3 separate regions of the Homo sapiens genome follow, and all the other regions are linked to region 1. Evidence: promoter capture Hi-C in 16 types of primary human blood cells and fetal thymus (Javierre and others, 2016). All regions are on one chromosome and are shown on one strand. Each heading gives the region's core, a stretch centred on a gene start or on the middle of the fragment in contact. The rest is flanking DNA. Distances are from core to core; before and after follow the strand shown. Region 1 holds the start of TDRD12 (tudor domain containing 12). Region 2 overlaps GPATCH1 (G-patch domain containing 1). Region 3 holds the start of GPATCH1 (G-patch domain containing 1).

Region 1 (4,471 bases), core at 655-3,154:
CGGTGGCTCACGCCTGTAATCCCAGCACTTTGGGAGGCGGAGGCAGGTGGATCACCTGAGGTCAGGAGTTCGAGAACAGCCACGTGGTGAAACCCTGTCTCTACTAAAAATACAAAAATTAGCCAGGTGTGGTGGCAGGCACCTGTAATCCCAGCTACTCGGGAGGCTGAGGCAGGAGAATCACTTGAACCCGGGAAGCGGAGGTTGCAGTGAGCTGAGGTCACACCACTGCACTCCAGCCTAGACAACAAGAGCGAAACTCCATCTCAAAAAAATAAATGAATAAATAATAAAATAAAATAAAACAATCCCACAATCTGCTACGTCCAGCTCCTGGGCCCACTGAAGTGTGATTTTCAAAGTATTTAGATTTCCTTTCTCCAATAACCCATACCCACCCCTCTGCTCTGGCCTGTCAACTCCTTCCTCCAGCAACGCTTTCCCCTTCACCAATGAGCCCTCACTGGACTCCAAGGGGGAAAAGCAAGGGTCCAGGCGGGCGTCCCTTCCCCGAGGACTAGAACAACGCCCACGCAGAGCCCACGCGGTGAGCGGATAGGGCAACAGAGACTGGGGGCATGAGGGAAGCCCGGACCCATGGGCTGGGGCTGCCCGGGCCACCCGACCCTGTCCAGGCGCCGAGCCTAAGGGCCCCGTGGAGTACGGAGAGCGGGGCCCTGGGGACGCCAGTGTCGCTTGGCCCGGGTGATCGAGCATTCGGAGGAGCAACCAATTCCGCGCTCCTCCAGGTGCATCCCGGAGCACGCCAGGGCCCGTGAAACCCGGGCTCATCCGGGTTCTACCCCAGCTCCCAGCCCGGGGTGCCCCCTGGTGGGGGCGCAGGGAGGGTTCAGGTGGGGGAGGGCGGGGTGGGGTTGGAGTGGAGGTGGGGTGGGCTGCGGCTGGGGTGCAGGTGGGAGTGGAGATGGGGTGGTGGTGGGGTGTGTGGGGCTGAGTGTGGGGGGATGAAATGTTGGGGTGGAGGTGTGAGTGGGGGCGGTGGGAATAAGGATGGGGTGGGGACAGGGGCGAGGGTGTGACTGTGGGGTGGGCAGCGATAAGGAAACGGGTGGGAGCTGGGGCTAGGGTAGGAGTTGGGGGTGTGTGGGGTTGGGAGTGGGATGGGTTGGGGTGGGAGTGGGGTGGGAGTGGGGGCGTGGTGTGGCGGCATGGGATATACGGGGTTGGGATGTGTGGGAGTGGGATGGAGTGTGCAGCAGTGAGATGGGGTGGGGGCATGTGTGAGTGTGGGGGTGGAGCTGGGTGGGAGTGGGTGTGGGAGGATGTGTGGGTTGGGGGAGGAGTGGGCGTGGGGAGTAGGTGTGGGCTGAGAGGGAGTGGACATGGGGGGGATGCGTGGGCTGGGAGGAGTGGGTGTGGAGGGATGTGGAGGCTGGGATGGGGGGAGGGGTGGGGGCTGTGTAGGGTTGGGGTCGGGGGTGGGAGGCTGTGCGGGGCTGCGGTGGGTGTAGGAAGCTGTGCGGAGCTGGGGTGGGGGTGGGAGGCTGTGCGCGGCTGGGGTGGGGGTGGGGGACTGCGTGGGTCTGGCGTGGGTCTGGCTTGGCGGCGCTCACCTTCAGCACCAGGAGCTGGAGCATCCTCCTGGCGCCCGAGGGCAGATGGGCCCCCTCGCCCTGGAAGTCCCCTACCGTCGCGGGTGAGGCTGGCTGCGTCCGCCCCGGCCAGGCCCCCGCCGCGAGTGCGTTCCTTCCCTCCACCTTTAGCGCCTGGGCCCCCCGCGGCAGGTGCCCCACACTCCTCGTCCCCAGGAGCCCTCGCGGACCCCGGGGTCGGCTCGAGGCAATGCGCTCCGTCCTGGCAGTAACCAGCCCCTCGCTGCGGGATCCCTGCCTGCCTGGCCTCGGGCCTCCCGCACCCACCGGATGCCCGCGCACGCTGAGCAGGCCTTGAGGCGTCGGAGACCACGTGGTCCACCCAACGGCCCAACAACGTAAGGCACAGCGCCACGCGGTGGCCAGGAGGACTGACGCGCGGAGGCCCTGGGAGGCCCGGCTAGGGGTCGCGTGATTCTCTCTTTTGCAGCCAGCAGGACTGCCCTGCAGGCCCCAGGGACACTCGCCTGTCCCCCGGAGGGACAGAGGGGCCGCGTGCGGCTGAGTCCGTTGGAAACCACCTTTGCAAAATTGTAACTGAGGAAATTGTGATGGTGAAAGAAATCAGACCTAATCAACTCCATCTTGCCTCTAACCTTTAAGCTGTCCTTGTTTATTCCTGGGCGGAAGCCCAACTAACCTTGGGAAGGAATTCAGTCCATGGTTTGACTCTGAAACAAAATTGATAAGAGCCTGTGAATCCTGAAAATGTGAGATAGGTCTCAGTTCATTTAGAAAGTTTATTTGGCCAGCAGAGCGAGGTGGCTCAGGCCTGTAATCCCAGCGCTTTGGGAGGCGAGGGGTGCGGATCACCTGATAAGGTTAGGAGTTGGAGACTAGCATCCTCGACATGGTGAAACCCCGTCTCTACTAAAAATAGAAAAATTAGCCTGGCATGGTGGGGAGCGCCTCTAATCCCAGCTACTTGGGAGGCTGAGACAGGAGAATCGCTTGAACCCGGGAGGCAGAGGTTTCAGTGAGCTGAGATCAGGCCACTGCACCCCAGCCTGGGCGACAGAGTGAGACTCTGTCTCAAAAAACAAAACAAAACAAAAAATTTTGCCAAGGTTGAGGACAGGCGCCCCTGACACAGGAAGTCCTAACGACATTTGCTAGACGTGGTCGAGGCACAGCTTGTGTTAAAGTTGGAGGGTGTCCAGGTTCTTGGTGTCTTGAAGAAAGAATTTGACAAAAGGCACACACAAAGCAAGGAAGGAATGAAGGGTTTTATTGAAAAAGTACACTCCACAGTGTGGGAGCAGGCCTGAACACAGGGACTCAAAGGCCCGGCAGAATTTCTGTGAATTTAAATACCTTCTGCTTGGGGTACGCCCGATGTAAATGAAGACGGTGAAGTAAAGTTACGAAGTCATTTACTCGGTGTATGCCCTATGGAGAGGGTATTTCCCCTTATAGCTGAAGCGTGAATCGGCCTTATGTTCCCTACCTCCAGACCCTATTTTCCTGCCTCACTTGGTCTTTTACATTTTAGGGAGGCATGAGACAACAATCCTTGAATCAGCTCAGTGGATCAGCTGACACCACCCACACCGATAATCTGCCTCAACCAGTTCTGCCAAACCAACCAGGAAGAGTAAATAGCAAGAAAAACTCCAACAACCTCTGATTCCATCTTCAACCTGGCCAATCAGCACTCCCCACTTCCCAAGCTCCTACCCGCCCAATTGTCTTTAAAAACTCTGTTCCTCAAATGCTCGGAGAGACTGATTTGAGTAATAATAAAACTCCAGTCTCCCACACAGCCGGCTCTGCGTGAATTACTCTTTCTCCATTGCAATTCCCTGTCTTGATAAATTGGCTCTGTCTAGGCAGCGGGCAAGGTGAACCCATTAGGTGGTTACAAGTTCATTATTTTATTTTTAAAGAGACAGGATATGGCTCTCTTGCCCAAGCTGGAGTGCAGTGGCACAATCATGGCTCACTGCAGCCTTGAATTCCTGGGCTCAGTTGATCCTCCATCTTCAGCCTCTCAAGTAGCTGGGACTACAGGCATGCACCACCACGCCTGGATAATTTTTTAATTTTTTTGTAGAGATGGGGGTCTCGCTGTGTTGCCCAGGCTGGTGTTGAACTCCTGGGCTCAAGCCATCCTTCCGCCTCAGCCCCCTGAGCAGCTAGGATTACAGGCATGAACCACCACACCAGGCCCTCAGTTGGTCCTTGTTGCCTGCTAAGGGGCCCCTGTCCTCCTGCTTTCTCTAGGCCAGCCTACACCCCTTAAACGCTGTGAGCTGGAAGCCTTGGTGGTGAGGAAGAGTCCTGGACAGTCATGAATCCCTGGGTCTTCGTGGCCTCCTGGCAACATTTCCATTTGATCTGCACCTTTTGGAAAGGTTCCTGGTCCTGGATTTCTTCCCAGCTGGACTTCAACTGGCAGGGCTCTCCGAGTCTAAACGAGTTAATTTGCTAGTAAGGGAACCAACAAGATGACAAAAGACTGCAAGAGTTTGGAGAGAGCATGGAAACTGTGGAGTTATTATTTGGGGAACAGAATGCTCACATAAGCATGCAGTTCTATAAGAAAACTGGATTGCACGAGGTCCCACAGATAACATGCACTTAAACTCTCAGGCAGGATGGTTGCAGAGGAAAGGTGTGTAGCTGCCAGTCGGGAGAAAAACACAGCTGCAAAGTGCGTGATGTTCACCTGTTCCTGAAATTAGGTTGACAAGGCCTCCCCTCCAATCAAGGCACCTGGTATGGCCAACTCACCTGAAAGCTCAAGACCTTGCCAAAAAGAGATGGAAAATGACAGGATCTGATTTAAACAGGAGGTCCTGGCTGGGCGAGGTGGCTCAGGCCTGTAATCCCAGCACTTTGGGAGGCCGAGGTGGGTG
Region 2 (4,471 bases), core at 520-3,019, 390 kb before region 1:
ACCCGGGAGGGGAGGCAGAGCTTGCAGTGAGCCGAAATCATGCCACTGCACTCCAGCCTGGGGGACAGACCAAGACTCCATCTCAAAAAAAAAAAAAAAAAAAAAAAGAGAGAAATAGCAATCCTAAATGTATATACACCTAAGAAGTGCACTTCAAAATACATAAGGCAAAAATAACTTTGGAATACAGTTTGACAGCTTCTTATAAAGTTAAATATACATGTACATATTTTCCAGGATTCCCACTACTAGGTTTGTACTCTACAGAAATGAAAACTTATATTCACACAAAAACTTGCACATGAATGCTCCCAGCAGCTTTACTTGTTATAGCCAAAAGTTAGAAACAAGCCAAATGGCCTTTAAGGGGAAATGGATCAATAGTTGGCTGCCTCTGCTGGTGAGTCACGAGGAGAAAGTGTCACCAAAGAGAAAAGCAAGGGCCACACTCAGCGTGGCAAAGAGAATCTGGAAGCCCCAAATACCTGATTTGCGGATAATTCTGGTGCATGCTCTTCCTCTTTGTTTACTAAGGGGCTGGACTGTTGTTTAGGTGGCTCGGCTTTTGATCTAGCCAAACTTAAAAATTCACTAATGGAATCTTCTTTCTTTTCGTGTTTAGAGGTATCCCATCTGGATGGTTTTCTTGATTCTGAAAGGCAGGACATAGATATAAACTCCAGCATTAGCAAGGAAAAGGCCAGTTCTTCACCACTGCTCTTTCATTCACTCAGAATGTCAGCGTGCCTACTAGGGGCCTGGCACTGTGTAGGGTCCTGGGGAGGTAGGTGGCAGAGGCAGAGACAGAGCCCCAACCCCAAAGAGTAAACATCTGGACCATTACAACATGAGCTAAGTTATTAGTAAGAGTAATTCCCTCAATGGAGGGAGAATATGCACCATTCACATTGTTAGGACTAAACTACCCTTTAATTCTGTCTTCCTACAGGCTAGGGGTTGAGGCCCTGGTCAATCAGAGACCCCGGGGACGCCCTACTCACTGTCGGGACCTCGGTGCTGTGATACTTTTTCACTTGATGCTTGAGTGGTGGGCAAGGAAGCTGTCTCTGGGAGCGTCAGAAAGTTGAAGACTGAGTACTTGTCACGCTTCACTCTTGGTAAGCCAACTAAAGTTGAACTGGGAATTGAAAAAAGAATCATTTTAGTAACAACCAGTAGGACAAAATCCACCTCCTGAAAAGCTTTCCATCTCAAGTTTTCCACCTCTTCTGCATGACTAAAAAGTCTCCTAAGATGCTTTCACTTCTCAAAGCAGTTCGAGAATCTGGGTGACTGATTTTAGGTCCCATGAGATTTTCCTTATTATGATAAGGACAAGAATTTAACTTTCAAAATGGATTTCCATTAAGGAAAAGCTCCACTGATAAAAATATACCTAAAGTTTCTGACAGTCTCTGGTTTGACCACATATGCTATCTTTTTGTTTTGTTTTTTTTTCTCTTGAGATTGAGTCTCGCCTTGTCACCCAGGCTAGAGTGCAATGGCACAATCTTGGCTCACTGCAACCTCCGCCTCCCAGGTTCAAGCAATTCTCCTGCATCAGCCTCCCAAATAGCTGGGACTATAGGCACGCACCACCACGCCCAGCTAATTTTTTGTATTTTTAGTAGAGACGGGGTTTCACCATGTTGGTCAGGCTGGTCTTGAACTCCTGACCTCAAGTGATCTGCCTGCCTCAGTCTCCCAAAATACAGGGATTACAGGCGTGAGCCATTGCACCCGGCCTACTATCTTGAAGTGTTCTGTTTGTTTGTTTGTTTGTTTGATTTTTTAGAGATGGGGTCTTACTATGTTACCCGGGCTGGCCTCGAACTCCTGGGCTCAAGCGATCCTCCTGCCTTGGCCTCCCAAGCTAGGATTACAAGTGTGCACCACCACACCCCACCTCTTGAAGTGTTATTAATCAAATAAGAAAGTGTTTAACTTTTATAATGATAATTTAAAAACATAAGTAACATTATAAATGTAAACCACATGAGCAGCAACAAGAAGGTGGCAAATGAGAGAGGCATAATGCTTTTGTAACTTGACATATCTGAGTTTCATAGCTTCAATATGGAATAAAGTTTGCTATCCAGATTTTGTTTTAGTAACAAATTATAGAAGTAATTTATCAAAGCAAATCTATAAAATGTGTAGATTTGTATATCCAGTGATATGCAAATAAGTTCATGTAGAAAAAATAAGAATTTATATGAGTATGTAAGGGGAAAATTAGCTTTAATATCAAGAATACATTTTGTACTGATGTAAAGGTTTATCCAACTTACTCTGGATAAGGGTCAGGGACATTAAATCTCTTACATAGAAGCTTGTCAGGGTGCCACTCAAACGTGTCTCGGGTGAGCTTCCCAAACATCTTCATCTTCACAGCCGACTGCTTATCCCCGACATCATTCTGGAAAAAGACATGCATTCTGTTCCATCAAGTGGCCGCACCACTGACCTGACTGCTCTCCCATTTAAAATTTTCAAGCAATCTTCTAGAACTGTGAAAAAAGTTTGTGCTATAACATTTATGCTCCAGTACATTGGAAACTAAGGCATAAAATGGTTTCCTATTCTCCTATACATGTATATTTTGATCTTCTCACCAAGGGATTAAAAATATTTGGCTCGGCCGGGCATGGTGGCTCATGCCTGTAATCCTAGTACTTTGAGAGGCCGAGGCGGGTGGATCACCTGAGGTCAGGAGTTCAAGACCAGCCTGGCCAATATGGTGAAACCCCATCTCTACTAAAAATACAAAAATTAGATGGCTGTTGTGGCGAGCGCCTGTAATCCCAGCTACTTGGAAGGCTGAGGCAGGAGAATCGCTTGAACCCAGGAAGCGGAGGCTGCAGTGAGCCGAGATCACACCACTGCACTCTAGCCTGGGCGACAGAGAGAGACTCCGTCTCAAAAAAAAGGAAAAAACTATTTTGGCTAGGCAGTGCTTTAATATTAAAGTTCACCAGGTAAGGGACATGGTGACAACAGACCTCTTGGTCTCGAGGGACTTCAACCTGATCTGAGTCATCCTCCTCCTTGGCGTGAGTGAACCTGGAGGACAAGGTCGAATGGGAAGATGCGTACAGCAGGGCCGCCCGGGCAAACTCATCCCGCTCACGGCCTCGCTCCCACTCTGTCATGCTGGGGTCCAGACAGCGTTCCAGAGCATCTGCGGGGGCAGAGAACAAGAAGCAGCTTCACTTTTCAGGAAAACATGGGGCTTACAAGAGAACATCTGCTGGGCACCACTGTATCCCTGTATATTTCATAAGTCCTTATCCTTGTTTTTATGACTATGGGAATGGTGAGGTATTTGGCAGGTAATATTGCTGTTTCCTTCAAAATTGTGCTTTTTTAAAAAAAATTTAGGCCAGGCGCAGTTGTTCATGCCTGTAATCCCAGCACTTTGGGAGGCCGAGGCGGGTGGGTCACTTGAGGTCAGGAGTTCGGGACCAGCCTGGCAAACATGGTGAAACCCCATCTCTCTTTTTTTTTTTTTTTTTTTTTCTGAGATGGAGTCTCACTCTGTCTCCCAGGCTGGAGTGCAGTGGCATGATCTCTGCTTACTGCAAGCTCCGCCTCCCACGTTCACACCATTCTCCTGCCTCAGTCTCCCGAGTAGCTGGGACTACAGGCGTCCGCCACCATGCCCGGCTAATTTTTTGTATTTTTAGTAGAGACGGGAAACAAAAAATTACCAGGCGTGGTGGCACATACCTATAGTCCCAGCTGCTCAGAAGGCTGAGGCAGGATAATCACTTGAACCTGGGAGGTGGAGGTTGCAGTGAGCTGAGATTGCAGTGAGCCAAGATCCTGACACTGCACTCCAGCCTGGGCAACAGAGCAAGACTCCGTTCAAAAAAATAAATAAAATATGATGTGTGTATATATATATATAATATATTTTATATATACATATATATCTTTTTTTTTTTGGTAGAGGCAGGATCTCACTATGTTGCCCAGGCTGGTCTTGAACTCCTAGGCTAAAGCGATCCTCATCTCAGCCTCCCAAAGTACTTGGATTACAGGCATGAGCCACCATCCCCAGCCAAAATGATGCTTTTATTGAATTCTGTCTACCAAACATAACAGAGAAAACCATTTGAGAGGCTAATGGTTGGTTAAATCTTCAGCAGTAAGGAACTTGTCACCACTCCCAGGCAGTGATAAGTTCACCTCAACCACATCCCTATGTTTTGGCAGAAAAACACTCTTTCACTAACCGTTTTTTTTTTTTAAAGCAAATAAACATTAGTGATGTAGGTTCTTAGTAGAGAGTTAAGGCACAGTAAATAGACTTTACATTCCGCAAAGATCTGTTTTTAAAAAACAACCCTGTAATTTACTGATAACCTCTCACGAGGACTACTGCATACAACAGCAACCCCTTTCCTCATTCTTGCCTCATTCTTGCCCTATTTACTTCACAGATCACAAAGTGATTGTTTTCCCTCTG
Region 3 (4,471 bases), core at 874-3,373, 360 kb before region 1:
TCAAGACCAGCCTGAGCAACATAGAAGGATCCCATCTCTATTTTTTTTTTTTTTTTTTTTGAGACAGAGTCTCGCTCTGTCGCCCAGGCTGGAGTGCAGTGGCGCCATCTTGGCTCACTGCAAGCTCTGCCTCCCAGTCTCACGCCATTCTCCCGCCTCAGCCTCCCGAGTAGCTGGGACTACATGAGCCCCCCCCCACCACGCCCAGCTAATTTTTTTTTGTATTTTTAGTAGAGACGGGGTTTCACCGTGTTAGCCAGGATGGTTAGGATCTTCTGAATTCGCGATCTGCCCGCCTCGGCCTCCCAAAGTGCTGGGATTACAGGCGTGAGCCACCACGCCCGGCCTCATCTCTATTTTTAAAATAAAAAATGTTGGGCACTGTGGCTCATGCATGCAATCCAGCACTTTGGGAAGCCAAGGTGAGAGCATCGCTTGAGGTCAGGAGTTTGAAACCAGCATGGTCAACACAGCAAGACCCTGTCTCTATAAAAAAAGAACTTGGGATAGTGAGTGTAGAACAGAGATGTCTTAAGAAAATGCAACAGCTGACTTCAAACACATAAAAAGCATTCGGAAGACTAGCCTTTCTCAGCCTTTTGTTTCGTTTGTTTGTTTGTTTGTTACAGACAGAGTCTCACTACAATGCCCAGGCTGGTCTCAAACTCCTGACCTCAAGCAATCCTCCCACCTCAGCCTCCCAGAGTGCTGGGATTACAGGTGTGAACCACTGTGCCTGGCCCCTTTCTCAACCTTTTGTAAGCCGAGGGTAGAAGAAGGGCCAGTATCCAGCAGAAGTTTCCACCAGAACTGTTTGTAGGAAATAAAGGGGGCATAAGTGGAGATATCCCAGAAGTACAATCAACCTGGCAGGATGTGGTCAGGGTGAAAAAAGGGAGGGGACCCCCACCAACAGGAGGTCTGCAAATAAATTGTGGCCCAATGATTCCACCATTCTTCCTCTGCCTTCCCTACAGGGCTAGCACAGCCAACAGCCCTTACTGGACACTCAATACATAACTTGCTGAACAAGTCAAGTCGTTAAGTGGAACAGACCAGAAACACAGGAGAGAACCTTGATTCATCTTGCCCCTCACCCCCACATTCCACCAGCAAGTATGGTCAGCTCTGCTTTCAAAATATATCTCCACCCAGACCACTACACACCACCACCACTGCTGTCCCATCCATGCCACCATCATCTCCTGACCTCTTTTTGCTAATCTCCCTGCTTCACTCTTACCCATCCCCAACCAGTGTATTCTCAACATCAAAGATAGAATAACATTAAAAATTGGCCGAGCACAGTGGCTCAAGCCTGTAATCCCTGCACTTTGGGAGGCAGAAGCGAGAGGATCACTTGAAGTCAGGAGTTCAAGACCAGCCTGGGAAACAGAGCAAAACCCTGTCTCTAAAAATCATATATATATCCCTCCCTGTGTAATTTCCCATGACCCTAACCCTAACCCTAATCCTGCACTTAGTACAAGATCCAAACTCTTTACCCTACCAAGTAAGATCCAGCCCCTGTCAGCCCCTCTGACATTCTTTTCTACCTGTCTCCCCCGCTGTCATCTGCTGCAACCATACCCGTCCTGCCTGCCCCTCAATTTCCTAAACTGGCTCCCACTTCAGGGCCTTTGCCACTTTATGTTCCTTCTGCCTGAAATGCTTTCCCTCCAGATTTGCTCATGGTTGTTTTCTTCCTCGGTTTCAAGTCTGAGCTCAAACGTCCTCTCTCGGGGAAGACACTGCCTGAGCACCCCCCGCTCTCACACTAGCTATTCCGTCATTTTCTTGTTTCTATCTCGCCGCCCCCTTGTTCGGCCACGCTTGTGTCTCCCGTCCCTGTAAACCTCTCTCTGTCGCTGCAGAAGGTGAGCACCCCGAGAGCGCGGCTAACGCCTCCCTCGTCGCCGTGTTCCCAGCGCTGGGAACGATCTAACAATGGTCCAGCACCGACTTGTGCTTTTGTGGCCCGAATCCTGGGCCCTTGGCCTGTTTTCCACAGGCTCCGCCGGCCCACGCGGCCCGCACCTTCTTCCAGAGGCTCCAGCCCGGTCCCATAGCTGACCAGATCTTCTTCGCTGTCACTGTCCCGCGCCGCCATCCTGCTCTTCCGGGCCCCGCCCCCTCGCTACGGCGGCCTTGGCAGGCCAAACGCCTTTCCTCTTTCTCCTCCGCGAACCCCGGTGATGCTGGAAGGCTGGGTCCGCGGGCGGGGGAAGGTGTCCTAGCGGCCCGAGCCTGCGCTCCGGATTCTCAGGCCCATCCTGTGGTAGGCCGTCCCAGGCAGGAGTTGCCTCGGAGGATTTGGCAGCCACGACATCCCATCCTAGCCCCGCGATGTGCGGGTGAGGAGGAGACTCCTGGCATAAGCTGGAAGCCACCCAACTGTTCCCTGCGAGGCGACACCGATGCCTGCCCAGCCCCCTACCCCCGTCCCTCGCGCCAGCCCCCTGCCTTGGCAGCAGTCACTGCCCAGCCCCGTCCACTCCCACCGCCCACCCAGCCACCTCCAGGGAAATGGCTGAGCTCCCAGATTTCATGCTCGCCCCGTGGGGCTTCGCTTTATTTTTATTATTATTATTTTTTACTTTTATTTTGGGTTCAGGGGTACATGTGCAAGTTTGTTATATAGGTAAATTGCATGTCGCAAGGGATTTGGGTTACAGATTATTTCCTCCCCAGGTAATAAGCATAGTACCCAATAGGTAGTTTTTCCGATCCTCACCCTCCTCGTACCTTCCACCCTCAAGTAGGTCCACCCTCAAGTAGGCCCTGGTGTTATTCCCTTTTTTTTTTTTTTTTTTTTTGAGACAGAGTCTCGCTCTGTCGCCCAGGCTGGAGTGCAGTGGCCGCGATCTCAGCTCACTGCAACCTCCGCCTCCCAGATTCAAGTGATTCTCCTGCCTCAGCCTCCTGATAGCTGGGATTATAAGCGTCCACCCCACCACGCCCTGCTAAATTTTTGTTTGTTTGGTTGGTTGGTTGTTGTGGTGGTTTTTTTTTTTTTTTTCTTGAGACAGAGTTTCACTCTTGTTGCCCAGGCTGGAGTGCAATGGCACGATCTCGGCTCACCTCAACCTCCGCCTCCCGGGTTCAAGCGATTCTCCTGCCTCAGCCTCCCTAGTAGGTGGGATTACAGGCATGCACCACTATGTCTGGCTAATTTTGTAATTTTTTTTTTAGTAGAGACGGGGTTTGTCCATGTTGGTCAGGCTGGTCTCGAACTCCCCACCTCAGGCGATCCATCCACCTTGGCCTCCCAAAGTGCTGGGATTACAGATGTGAGCCACCGCACCCGGCCATTTTTTTTTTTTTTTTTTTTTTTTTTTGTATTTTTAGTAGAGACTGGGTTTCACCATGTTGGCCAGGCTGGTCTTGAACTCCTGACCTCAAGTGATCCACCCGCCTCGGCCTCCCAAAATGCTGGTATTACAGGCGTGAGCCACTGCGCCTGGCACCTGTCATTCCCTTCTTTATGTCCATGTGTGCTCAATGTTTAGCTCCCACTTATACGTGAGAACATGCAGTATTTGGTTTTCTGTTCCTGCATTAGTTTGTTTAGGATAATGGCCTCCAGCTGCATCTATGTTGCTGCAAAGGACATGGTCTTGTTGTTTCTTTTTTTTTTTTTTTTTGAGACGGAGTTCGCTCTGTCCCCCAGGCACGCCATTCTCTTGCCTCAGCCTCCCGAGTAGCTGGCACTACAGGCGCCTGCCACCACACCCAGCTAATTTTTTGTATTTTTAGTAGAGGCGGGGTTTCACCGTGTTAACCAGGATGGTCTCGATCTCCTGACCTCGTGATCCGCCCATCTTAGCCTCCCAAAGTGCTGGGATTACAGGCATGAGCCACCACGCCTGGCCAGTCTTGTTCTTTTTTTATGGCTGTGTAGTGTTCCATGGTGTATGTGGACCATATTTTCTTTATCCAGTCCACCATTTGTGGGCATGTAGGTTGGTTCCATGTCTCTGCTATTGTGAGTAGTGCCTCAATGAATATATGCATGCATTTGTCTTTATGGTAGAACAACTTATATTCCTTTGGGTATATACCCAGTAATGGGATTGCTGGGTCTAATGGTAGTTCTGTTTTAAGTTCTTCAGGAAATCTCCCAACTGCTTTCCAGTTGTAATTGTAATTTAATTGTAATTTTCTTTTTTTTTTTTTTTTTTAGTTTATTTTCTTTGTCTAGACAGAGTCTCACTCTGTTGCCCAAGCTGGAGTGCAATGGTGCGATCTCGTCTCACTGCAACCTCCAACTCCTGGGTTCAAGCGATTCTCCTGCCTCAGCCTCCTGAGTAGCTGGGACTACAGGCGTGCGCCACCACACCTGGCTAATTTTTGTATTTTTTTAGTAGAGACGGGGTTTCGCAATGTTGGCAAGGCTGGTCTCAAACTTCTCACCTCAGGTGATCCACCCACCTCAGCCTCCCAAAGTGCTGGGATTATAGGCATGAGCCAC

Evidence for each region. The method cuts DNA at HindIII sites, captures the fragments that hold promoters and counts their contacts. A CHiCAGO score of 5 or more calls a contact.
Region 2: a contact is called between a fragment that was not itself captured here and the fragment with the promoter of TDRD12 in region 1, in 1 of 17 cell types (erythroblasts). The highest score is 6.1, in erythroblasts.
Region 3: the fragment with the promoter of GPATCH1 here is called in contact with the fragment with the promoter of TDRD12 in region 1 in 1 of 17 cell types (total CD4 T cells); the score reaches 5.0 in total CD4 T cells.

The regions. Positions count from the first base shown.
Region 1 is chr19:32,717,200-32,721,670 of GRCh38, reverse strand. TDRD12 (tudor domain containing 12) reads right to left here and starts at 1,904. Exons shown (of 33, transcript NM_001366102.1): 1 at 1,575-1,904. The coding sequence starts at 1,598. The HindIII fragment of the contact is 20,000 bases long and covers 1-4,471 here.
Region 2 is chr19:33,110,434-33,114,904 of GRCh38, reverse strand. It overlaps GPATCH1 (G-patch domain containing 1), which reads right to left. Exons shown (of 20, transcript NM_018025.3): 12 at 3,003-3,181; 13 at 2,292-2,419; 14 at 1,002-1,138; 15 at 486-652. Among named protein-coding and RNA genes, the nearest start is that of WDR88, 19 kb to the left of the region's middle. The HindIII fragment of the contact is 1,130 bases long and covers 1,205-2,334 here.
Region 3 is chr19:33,078,833-33,083,303 of GRCh38, reverse strand. GPATCH1 (G-patch domain containing 1) reads right to left here and starts at 2,123. Exons shown (of 20, transcript NM_018025.3): 1 at 2,038-2,123. The coding sequence starts at 2,110. RefSeq lists enhancers at 1-263, 1,899-2,228. The HindIII fragment of the contact is 10,253 bases long and covers 1-4,471 here.